2 separate regions of the Homo sapiens genome follow, and region 1 is linked to region 2. Evidence: promoter capture Hi-C in human tissues and cell types (Jung and others, 2019). All regions are on one chromosome and are shown on one strand. The core of a region is centred on a gene start or on the middle of the fragment in contact, and the rest is flanking DNA. Distances in the headings are between cores, read along the strand shown.

The links. Contacts are between HindIII fragments. The study calls those that stand out against the background at their distance.
Region 1: a fragment that was not itself captured here is called in contact with the fragment with the promoter of OR10G2 in region 2 in 3 of the 25 tissues and cell types used here (H1 embryonic stem cells, hippocampus and liver).

The regions. Positions count from the first base shown.
Region 1 is chr14:21,676,572-21,682,010 of GRCh38, forward strand. It overlaps TRA. Among named protein-coding and RNA genes, the nearest start is that of OR4E1, 5.5 kb to the left of the region's middle. The HindIII fragment of the contact is 4,222 bases long and covers 1,398-5,439 here.
Region 2 is chr14:21,630,446-21,636,589 of GRCh38, forward strand. It overlaps OR10G2 (olfactory receptor family 10 subfamily G member 2), which reads right to left and starts at 4,495. Exons shown (of 1, transcript NM_001005466.2): 1 at 3,391-4,495. The coding sequence starts at 4,397. The coding sequence ends at 3,465. It also overlaps TRA. The HindIII fragment of the contact is 10,781 bases long and covers 1-6,144 here.

The DNA of each region.
Region 1 (5,439 bases), core at 2,259-4,758, 45 kb after region 2:
GGCTGAGGCAGGAGAATCGCATGAACCCGGGAGGCGGAGCTTGCCCTCAGCCGAGATCGCACCACTGCACTCCAGCCCAGGCGACAGAGTAAGACTCTGTCTCAAAAAAAAACAAAAAAAAAACAAAAAAAGGGCTCCTCAAAATTAAATCTGCTAACTGTTTAGTTTAGTTACTATCCTGATCCAAAGGAAACAGACTGCAGCACCAATTGGCTGACTTTGGGTAAGTAGTGGGGTACATTTTACCTGAGTAAAGGATGGGATTGCATTGGAGGCCCTCCCCTCAGTAAAGTCCCTCTTGGTTAAAAATGGATTAAAGATGACAGGGCTCAACCAGGGGCAAGTTTGAGCCTTGCCAGTTCAATACTGCATGCTAAGCAGAGTGGCTAATGTCTATGTTTTGTCACATGTATTTTGCTCTGTCCAGAATGCCAAATGTTAATTTCATTACCCTATGCAACCCCTTGGGTGGCATCCTGCAACAGTGAGAAAATTTTGCCTGTGGTTCCATGATTTTTTGTGTATGTGGTTGGCTCCCTGGCACTATAGTATGTTTCAGGGAAGGGGAACCCAGGAACCTAACACGCTGGCAAAAGTGTAAGAATTTCTTACCAGTCAGGTTTCTGGCCTCTCTTTCCCTGTGCTTCTCTTTCCTTGTGCAAACTGGGAAAGTTCTGGCCTCTCTTTCCCTGTGTAAACTGGTTAAATGAATGGTAAAAAATCACTGTTTATCTTCTGCAAAGTTTTGATTAATGGAAAAAAGTATTTATGAGGTTAGTCTTAAGCTGTAGCGAATCTGGTATGTTTATGCATCTTCTGTATCATTCTTTCATAAAGAGGGGTACCATAGGATTGAACATGGGCTTTAAACCCCATAAGCCCACTGCTCAAGATGGCCCAGCAAGCTGGTCAGTAACAAACTTTGCTGCAGGATCCTGAAACAAACAAAAAAACTGGATAAGGTCTCCATATTGTTTTATGTCTTTGGGAGCTTGACCTTGTGACCATATGGTGGTACTTTCTCTTGCTCTCTGCCTTCCAGGGAAAAGGAATTTTAGGGTTCATGTCATAGTTACCTCTAAAAATTATCTTGAGTAGTTAAAAGCCTTTGCAAGCTCAAAATTAACTACTCTAGACTCCTTCTGGGATGGGCAGTGGAGACTTCCCAGTGCTGTAGCTCAGTAGCTAAGATTTTGTTCTTTCACAGTGGTGGCTTGGATTCAATCCTGGCTTAGGAAATGCATACTTTCTGGTTGATATCTGTGTGACCTTTATCATTTGTTAATTCTCTTCCTCTCCATGAACAACTTCTGACTTCCCTTCTTGAATTTTCCTTTCTTTGAGCTACCTTTGAAGATTCTAGATTTTGTAAAAACTGCATGTTTTCCTAGCCCTGTTTCTTGAAGGGCTCTGCCCTAAGGCCAGAATTAAGAAACTGGCAAATAAAACATCTAATAACTACTGGATCTTCTTCTGTCTGTGTATTTATGTATGTGTTGTGTGTATGATGTTTATATAAAAGATCTCTAATTAATTGGCATAAAAATAAGCTCTTAAATCAAATATTTTGAAAGAAAGATAAAAATCCTAATGTCTTTTAGCTCATGTAACTTTAGTAATCTTTGGGAAATAAAAACAGCTTTAAAGATTATTGGTAAAATAAAGACATTTGGTCTAAATTAGGCAGGTCAGATATTAGGTTTATTAAATGCTTTAAGGTCATGAACTGTTTTGACTTTTGAAAATTGTTCAATTTACCTACCTTGAAGACACTAGATTCTAGATAAGCCCTGGGGACATGTGGAATTAGCAATGCCCCTTAGCCATGCAAAGAAGGTTATAAAGAAAAGATATTTTTATATAAGAAAGAATACTGTATGTTAAATTCTTATCCTAAAGTAAAATAATGGTTATTTAAAAAGAGAGATGTTTAGGACAAGTCAGAAAGTCCAAGCACACTGTAGATGAAAGTCTGTGTAAGTCATGAAAGGATTCGTGAAAGGAAATCTGTGCACCAAAAGCAAAAGTTGCTGAGTTACCATTATAAGATGTGATTGAGATTACTGAAAAAAATAGTTTTACGTGCAGGGTATGTGAGGATAGTAAAATGTGTTTTTGGCAAAAGATTATAAGAAGGCATGGGAATGTAAATTTTTGCCTAGTTTAGAGGGTTAAAGGATTGTTTTAAATTATGTTAGAATAAGCTAAAAGCTTGAACAAGGTGTAGAAGGGTTGTAAAAATTAATCTTGTAAAAGAAATTCTGTGTGTGAACATATTGACTAAATTTAAAAGGGGATTATTTGTTTTTTCTGTAAATTGAACATCAAAATAAAAGCACAAACAGGGGTTTCTTAAAGCACTCATCTGCTCTTTAACAAAAATTTGTAAAGGGTTATAAAAGGTTTATCGGAATCTCACCTTATGGTCAAACTGATGAAGACTGGTTAGATTTGTCTATAGACAAATAGACAATAGATAGATTATAATCTATCCAAATTATATATAATTTGTTTTATTAAGAATTGGGTTTGACATTAATAATATACTAATGCAAGGGTAAAATTTGGCTTTCTCTCTTGAACAAGATTTTCATGTAATATTAAAGGATAATGAAAGATTTTTCTTTGCCTTTTGAGTAAACTACTGAAAAAACGGAAAGACAACAGACCAATTGGAAAGCTAAGTCTGTCCTTTATCAATGAGTAAAGGTTTTTGTCTTTTGAAAACTTCGAGTCATCATTTTGGCTAAATGAATGACTTATGGTAATCTGGAATACTAGTTCATAATATTAAGTGTTTTAAACCTTTAACATATTTAATAGGCTTCTCAAAATCAAATTTCAGCTTCAAAATTGTCTTTTCTGACCTCTAATTTTGAGATGATACAGAGGGCTCTTGAAGCATCTAAAAGAGAGATAAACAGGATTATTTGACATGTTTAGTTACATGGGATCGTCAAAATAAAAACAATGTTTAATCTTCTTCAGGTTATATTTTCATGAATAATAATAATATATTCCAAAATTTTATGCATTTCTAAAATTCTGATATGTCTGAGTATATGCTATCAATCATAATTATGGTTATTGTTATTATAGATCACAGAAATAACCACATTTCCTTGTCTGTTCTGTCTTTACAGCTATTTAAAGTCACTTCCACAGGTAATTGCATAATGCTGATGCAATTTCTAAAAATTTCACAAGCACATAAAATCCTAAAATATGATGTCTTTTAGGAGATTCATGAAAGGATGGAAAGGACCCTGAAAAGTGCTCTTGAATATAGGTTTCTAATAACTTTAAAATCACATCGTGGGTAAAATTCCCCAATTTCCCCAGAATTGGACCGGGTAAGAATTCCTGAAACTTTAATAAAAAGACTGATTGGTTTATAAAACTGCTTACCCCAGTAGAACAAAAATTAATTAAATACCGAGAAAATACTTTGCCAGGTTTTCATGCTAACTCAGCCAATATTAAAATTGTTGAGACATACAATTTGAATGAACTCCATGCTCTAACTGAAATTACCTATGACAACCCGTCAGTTATCAGTGTTATGCACCTAAGTCAGAGAAACAACTGGTATTCAAGAGGACATAAGTCTAGTGTTAAGCATGGACTCATGGAGAACCAGGAAGGCTGCCTTGTCCTTCCTGAGTCCTTAAAGCTTTTGTTATTAAAGGTTCTGCATTTCATGACTCATCATGGAAAAGATAAAATTATCCACATTACATGCATACTGGTGTGGTGACTTATACATTGCTAAATTAGTTTGTAACCAGTATTTGGTTTGTTAAATCCATATTCTTGGGAAGACAACCAAAGCTTCAGGTACACTTGGCTACCCGATGGGCCATTTAAACATTTATAAAGGGATTTCATTCAATTGCCATTTTCAACGCATGTTTTCTGTTTGTATAAAAGCTTTCCCATGCAAGAGGGCTGATGTTATAACAGTAGATTATTACGCTACAGTGTATTTTCACCTGGTAAAGAAAGGTTTTTATGATTCCCTGAGGACAATCAGCCCCTACACAATCTAGAACCCAAAGATTGGATCTTCTGAGAACATCAGAGAAAGACTGTCCTTGACATCCACACTATAGCAAAACTTTGGAACTTTGAACTTTGGGTTCGTAATCTCACAACTGAGAAGGGTCCCTCCACACTCTTGGAACTGTACATCCATTGGAACCCTTAAGGTAAAGCTAACCAGGGAAATTTCTCCCCAGAAGAAGATGCCATCCTTGATATAAACAGCTTTTCCCAAGATCACAGATCAAGACTTCTACTATTATGAGACTCTTATCTTTGAATACTTTTTCCTTGTTTATGCCTCTGTGAACAATAGAAATGGAAAGGGGGTCTGTTGTGTGCACTTATATGGTATACTTTTATTCATAAATGATTTTGCAGCCAGCCTTACACATGAATAACCTTATACCTTTACAGATAAAAAAATGAAAGCCCATTGTAGTTGAGAAACTTTAAAGGTAGAAATATTGCCATGTAATCAGTCAGAAACAGAACATGGATTCACTCCTCTTAACCCACATCGTGGGCTAAAGAGAATGTTGCTAGGAGGTCTTCACTCTTCCCAAAGGCATCATTTGTTAGGTCATTTTTCTGTGGTTTGAAGTAAAAGAGGCAATGATTAGAAATGTATCCCTCATGATAGGCACTATAGCAGATTCTACTGCAAAGACTATGCTTACACAACAGACTTTAAAGTCTCTTGTGACAGTTATGCTAAACAGTAGAATTGGCTAAACAGAGAAGAATCTGTGCAGTGCTAGCACTTGTGGCCTAGGAAGAAATACATTGGGTATTATAGAGATTCAGTTGTAGGGGATTAACAAAAAGATCACTTAGTTAAGCAAGTGGACTCTTTATCTAGCTCATTCTTTGATCTATTTGATTTTAGGTGGTTTGGTTTATGGGGAACCTGGGTAAGGAGCATACTCCAAACTCTTGGTATTATCCTCCCAATAGTTACCACAGTAGTCTCTCTGGTGCACTATATTCTCTTGAAGGTTTTAAATGTTTGCATGCAGCCATCTCTAGAATGTCAAATGGTCTCTCTTCAACTGGAATGACAAAAGCTGAAGTAAACATGTGACCATGAGGACACCGTAAACTATGAAGGACATGCTGATACCAGAAACCCAAAATGATGGTAACTGAGAGTGGCACTAAGGCCTTAAGTTTGGTTACGCTCTCACCTAAGTGAGAACCTGGCCAAAAAGGGGGAATTTTTTAGAACAAAATTATGGGAGGCCATTGTATTGGACTAAGATCATGCACTAGACCCCAACAGACCAAACCAAACCAAAACGGAGTTGCTTATGCTAAATTTGACGTAATGAAACTAAGACTTTAAGGAAACACATAAATTCTAGAACAGACCAGGTTTTGTTTTTCTCCTGAAAACAG
Region 2 (6,144 bases), core at 3,245-5,744:
GTACACATTATTTCATCACCCAGGTTAAGGCCAGTACCCAATAGTTATCTTTTCTGCTCCTCTCCCTCCCTCCACTCTCCACCCTCAAGTAGACCCTAGTGTCTAGTGTCTGTTGTTCCCTTCTTTGTGTTCATGAGTTCTCATCATTTAGCTCCCACTTATAAGTAAGAACATATGATATTTGGTTTTCCGTTCCTGGTTCCTCCAGCATGGATGGAGCTGGAGGCTATTATCCTTAGCAAACTAACCCAGGAACAGAAACATACATCTCATTCTTTTTTATGGCTGCATAGTATTCCATGGTGTTTATGTCCCACATTTTCTTTATCCAATCTGTCATTGATAGGCATTTTGGTTGATTCTATGTCTTTGCTATTGTGAATAGTGCTGCAATCAATGCACATTTGCTTGCATGTGTCTTTATGGTAGAATGATTTGTATTCCTCTGGGTATATGCCCAGTAATGGGATTGCTATTAAATGTAAATGGTAATTCTTCTTTTAGCTCTTTGAAGGATCGCCATACTGCTTTCCACAATGGTTGAATTAATTTACACTCCCACGAACAGTGTATGTGTTCCCTTTTCTCCATAACCTCACCAACATCTATTATTTTTTGCCTTTTTCATAATAGCCATACTGGCTCAAGTGAGATGGTATCTCATTTTGGTTTTGATTTGCATTTCTTTAACGATCAGTGATACTGAGCTTTTTTTTGTTTGCTTGTTGGATGCATGTGTGTCTTCTTTTGAAAAGTGTCTGTTCATGTGGGATCCAGGTTTCATACAGCAAACAGAAGCAAGCACAGGTGCAGCCTCATGTTTGTTTACATTGATTCAGAGTTTGAGCTGGTTTCACCGGTTTGACTCACAGTTTTCTTTGTTGAGGCTAGGTGAGTTCCTGCTAACGACTCTGTACCACACACACACAAATCACTCAGTATCACTCAAGATTAGTTCTGTTTTAATGATGAACTTAGCATTCATACATGTAATCCTAAGAGTAGTTATAGTTTGTGGATCAACTCACATATGACCTTAAGATCTCATGTCTTCTGACAAGAGCAATATGGCACATTGGCTTAAGTGCCGCATAGAAGACTTGCTAGACCAATCAGTGTCTTCTAGATTCTATTAGAAATGCTATTTTTTAAATGTCCAGTTGGAAATTTTCAATGGCTTGTTTCAAGATTAACAAATTATTGTGGACTCTGTACTGCCTTGCTTGTCGTCTCATACTATGTGTAACATGTATTATATGTATGCATAACATATAATATCCTTCCTGATATTATGGTGTTTCTGTATAGCACAGTGTGATTCTTATATCCACATTAATATATTTTTACCTTTACGAATTTTGAATCTTTCCATGCATTTGTTTAAATTTTACTGTTAAAATGGGCCAACATGATACCACACATCCAAAGAAGTGAAAAATATGCCAGCGAATGAAAGAATACATTTACCTTGTTTTTGGTTATTCACCAAGGAACTGTCCATGCTTGCTTTTAGGTTGCCATGTAGTTGAATCTTCTGTCTTCAGTTTCCCTTAAATGTTCTCTTTTTTTTTTCTTTTTTCAGGTGAGACCAGGACAGGTAATCGGCAGAACTGACAATAATTTCTTCAGTTTAAGATACATTTCAAGAGACTTTTGCAGTGCGGTTTAAATTCAGCAACAAATGGCCGGGCGCGGTGGCTCACGCCTGTAATCCCAGTACTTTGGGAGATGGAGGCGGGTGGATCACGAGGTCAGGAGATCGAGACCATCCTGGCTAAAACGGTGAAACCCCATCTCTACTAAAAATACAAAAAATTAGCCGGGCGTGGTGGCGGGTGCCTGTAGTCCCAGCTACTCGGGAGGCTGAGGCAGGAGAATGGCGTGAACCCGGGAGGCGGAGCTTGCAGTGAGCCGAGATCGCGCCACGGCACTCCAGCCTGGGCGGCAGGGCGACACTCCATCTCAAAAAAAAAAAAAAAAAAAAAATTCAGCAGCAAATATTGATTTCTGTGTCTGCTCGTAGTTATTAGGCAATAGAGGCAGACAAACACAAATGAATGCTTTATGTCCTTTGAGGGCTCACAATCCATTTGAAGTGGAAAGAGAGATAAATTCCTTTTTTTTTTAGACTTTTTTTTTTTTTTTTTTTTAGATGAAGTCTGGTACTGTCACCTAGGCTGGAGTGCAGTGGTGCAATCTCCGCTCACTGCAACCTCTACCTCCTGGGTTCAAGCAATTATCCTGCCTCAGCCTCCCAAGTAGTTGGGATTACAGGTGCATGCCACTATGCCTGGCTAACTTTTTATATTTTTAGTAGAGATGGGGGTTTCACTATGTTGGCCAGGCTGGTCTTGAACTCCTGACTTCGTGATCTGCCCACCTCGGCCTCTCAAAGTGCTGGGATTACAGGCGTGAGCCACTGCGCCCGGTAGGAGATAAATTCTTGACTGTAATACGTGACAGACTGGGGCAAGGTCTATACTAAAGAAGCCATGGCAATACCAGGGAAGAGGAGTTAAGTCCTGCCTGGGAAAAACAGATGAGGAAGTATTTAATATGGATCTGAAGGAAGCATAAATTGTCACTTGGTCAATATGGAGAGGGAGGACTTATATTCCAGGCAGAGAAGAGAGCTTGAGCAAAAGAGTACAGGCAAGTATAGAGCATGCTCACGGAACGGCAATAAATCAGTGAGGGTGGGAGAGGGAAGCAGAGGAAATGGCTTAAGAGAACATGTATGTGAAGCCAAGATTGCATTGGATTTTGAATTCCAGATTAAGGAGCCTGGCCTTATTCATTCTACCTTCGCCGAAGAGTCCTACAGATTCTGTGTTTCAGAGGGTAATTTTGATTGTGGTCTAGATGAGGAAGAACTAGTCAAGAATTAAGAGAGACAGTCTACACTGAATCAGTTTGAGCTGGTTTCATAGTTTTGAGGAGACAGAATCTGATGTGTTAGCACATCACGAGGGCGAGGGACAGGAAGAAAACACAAATAATCCAGAATTTTCAAGTTCAAGTGCTTGGAAATATTCATGCCATGCACAAGCAAAGAAATGGAATTTAGAGGGGTCTAGGATTAGGAGCAAAGACAATGAAACAAGGGGTTATGGAGCCCCCTTTTTACTCTTTTCAAATTTTCTGGCATGATATACTTTCTAAGACATTGACACATTCTCATCTTATTCAACCTTTGGTAAGGCATTTTCTCATCTCACAAGATAGAGGTGATAGAAATAATGTATCCATTTATTTCTAAAAGATTATGTAAAACAACCTGAACCAGTTTAATTAGGGGAAAAGATTTTGGGTCGAAATAATTCAGAATTTTCTGCCAAAGAAAATGAAAATAAATTCACTTTAAATCCTTAGCAGTTTATTGGGCATTTGTCACATGCAGCAGTAGCTGAAGAGAGTGGCAGTGATAATGATGCAGATGTAGTTACTTATTTTCATTCAGTCCTTCAACCTGCTGTTATCCTCTTCAGGGCAGACTTCACTTCCTGGTTCCTCAGTGTATAGATGAGGGGGTTCAGTAATGGAGTGACAACAGTGTAAAACACAGCCGCTGCCCCATCCAGGGGGTCTTTGGAGCCAGCCCTAAGGTAGATGAAAATACAGGGGACATAGTAGACTGTGACCACGATTAGGTGGGAGCCACAGGTGGAGAAGGCCCGGCGCCTCCCATCAGTGGTGCGTATCTTCAGGATGGCATTTACTATGTTGGCATACGAGAGCAGAATTAACATGAAGCAACTGGCGGCCACTACCCCGACGTCCACAAAGGTCACAAGCTCATTGACAGTTGTGTCAGCACAGGCCAGTCTCAATACTGCGGGGATGTCACAGATAAAGTAATCCACCTGATTGGGCCCACAGTAGGGCAGGCGGAAGGTCAAGGTGGCCTGGATAGACCCATGCATGGAGCCGGCGACCCAAGCTCCAGCCACAAGGACTGTGCATAACCTCCCATTCATGAGCACTGGGTAGCGCAGGGGCTGACATATTGCCAGGTACCTGTCATAGGCCATCAAGGTGTAGAGGAAGCACTGGGTGCTGCCCAGGAAGTGAAAGAAATACAGTTGAGCCACACAGCCACCAAACGGGATAGCCTTGATGGAAGGAGTAAAATCCAAAATAAGCAGAGGAACGGTGACTGAGGAGAGCCACATGTCCAGGAATGAGAGCACTCCCAGAAGAATGTACATGGGGCGAGCACAGAGCTTCGGGTCAGCCCACATGGTGAGCAGAATGAGCAGGTTCCCCAGCTGAGTGAGGATGTAAATGATGAAGAAGACCAGGAAGAGGAGGCTTCTTAGATTTGGGGGGTGAGACAAACCCAGAAGAATGAAATCTGTCACCACGGCATCCAGCGATGTGTTTTTGGTCTTTCCCATGTCTTTTTGTAGTCTGCTAAGATGAATGGTGACGTTTGACAAGAGAAACACAGCACAATGATGTTGTAAGTGAATGCTTTTGTCGGATGATTGATGCCTAGGAATTATGAGATAAACAAGATAGAGTCAAATTGTTTTTTAAAAGAGGAGGTGGTGTCACCATTAGTTATTTAGGTTTACTTAAAAGGAGAAGTCCTCCAGAGGCTGGTTAGTTTCCTAGATGGGAGGAAACTCTTGTCCATTGAGAGATACTGAAAGCCAGGATTTGCCAGATGAAGGAAGAGGGACACATGAGAGTGATAGAGAAGTACCGAAAATTCCAACCAAAAAGTGAGTTCGCCAAGGAGGGGCTAAAGTTGATGCAGAGCAGTGTGGAACAAACACCCTATAATGACCACATCTACTTTTTCTTCACCTACTATCATTGTCCCCTTTTTCCTCAGCTAAAATCTCATCTCCTTAACATATCATGCAAAAATATTCCTCATCTGGCCCTTATTTATATCGCTATTGTACCACTTGTAATTCCTTCTTATTGTTGGGAGGCATGACACTCTTCAAGCTTCTCACAGTAGTGTGCTCTAACTTGGGACTTACGCACACACTATCTTTTCTGCTCCCTTCACATAGGTAGTGCCCACTTTTCCTTCAGGATTCAGTTTGAGTGTCTTCACCTTCAAGAAGGCTTTCCGGATCCCTGAGGACAATGCTTATACTTTTCTGAGCACGTACATTATGTTGCATTGTCTAATTTCTGTTTTTCTCTCTTAATAATCATCCCGTCTAGCATGCTAAAAGTGATAAATACCGTAATTATTTTCTGAATGACTGAGATAGATAGAATGGATGTTGCCAAATCCCCCTGACTGAATACATTGTTTCTCTTGATCTTTTTTGTCTGACCCCTGTGCTCACATGGCTGGGACTTTTAGGTCAAGGGACCACCTCATTCACCATGTAATATGGGTATAATTTCATTATAAAAAACTCCAAGAAACATTTATGCCTGTTTTTGCTCCAGGATATCATTTAGATTTATTTGTTGATTTATATGGTTCATTGGTTTGGGATTGGGTTTTTTTTTTGGTATGAGGTCACAGAGGAATTTTTATTGTTTGTTATAAAATCATTGATTAATGCAGGACTTGATCTTTAGTGTGCTTGTGTGTAATATCTATGTATTGCAGTCTATCAAACAGCAACTCTCTCTAAAGACATTTACAGATTTTCAAGTATCTGAACAAGATGATAAAATAGAGGGATGGAATGTGTTTGTTTCACTCTTTTTGTTAAATAGGTTGCTTGATAAAGACTTTTCGCTCTATATATGGTTTGAGATGCATTTATCTTTCATTTAACTACAAAATATCTTTGTAATGCAAATGACTACTTTCATAAAGCAATTAAAATGACAATAGATTATTATAAATAACATGTGAATATTAATAAGTTTAATCTCTATCGGAAATTCTCCAAAGAGATTTTATCTTAAGTATTCTGTGAAATAACTTAATTCATATGTTAACATTCAAGAGTTATTAGTAGTAATAATAATAATACTGAATATATCTGGCTCTTCGAAGTCTGGAAAATGTTAAACTTGTCCTTTGCCCACCAAGAACGAAGAAATATCAGATTTTTATTGCCTGAGTTTCAGGAGGACACTTTGATTTATTTGAAAATGGATGGGAAAACTAAATCTTATTTTTGTGGTTAGAATATAGAGAAAAGAGGCTGGGCGTGGTGG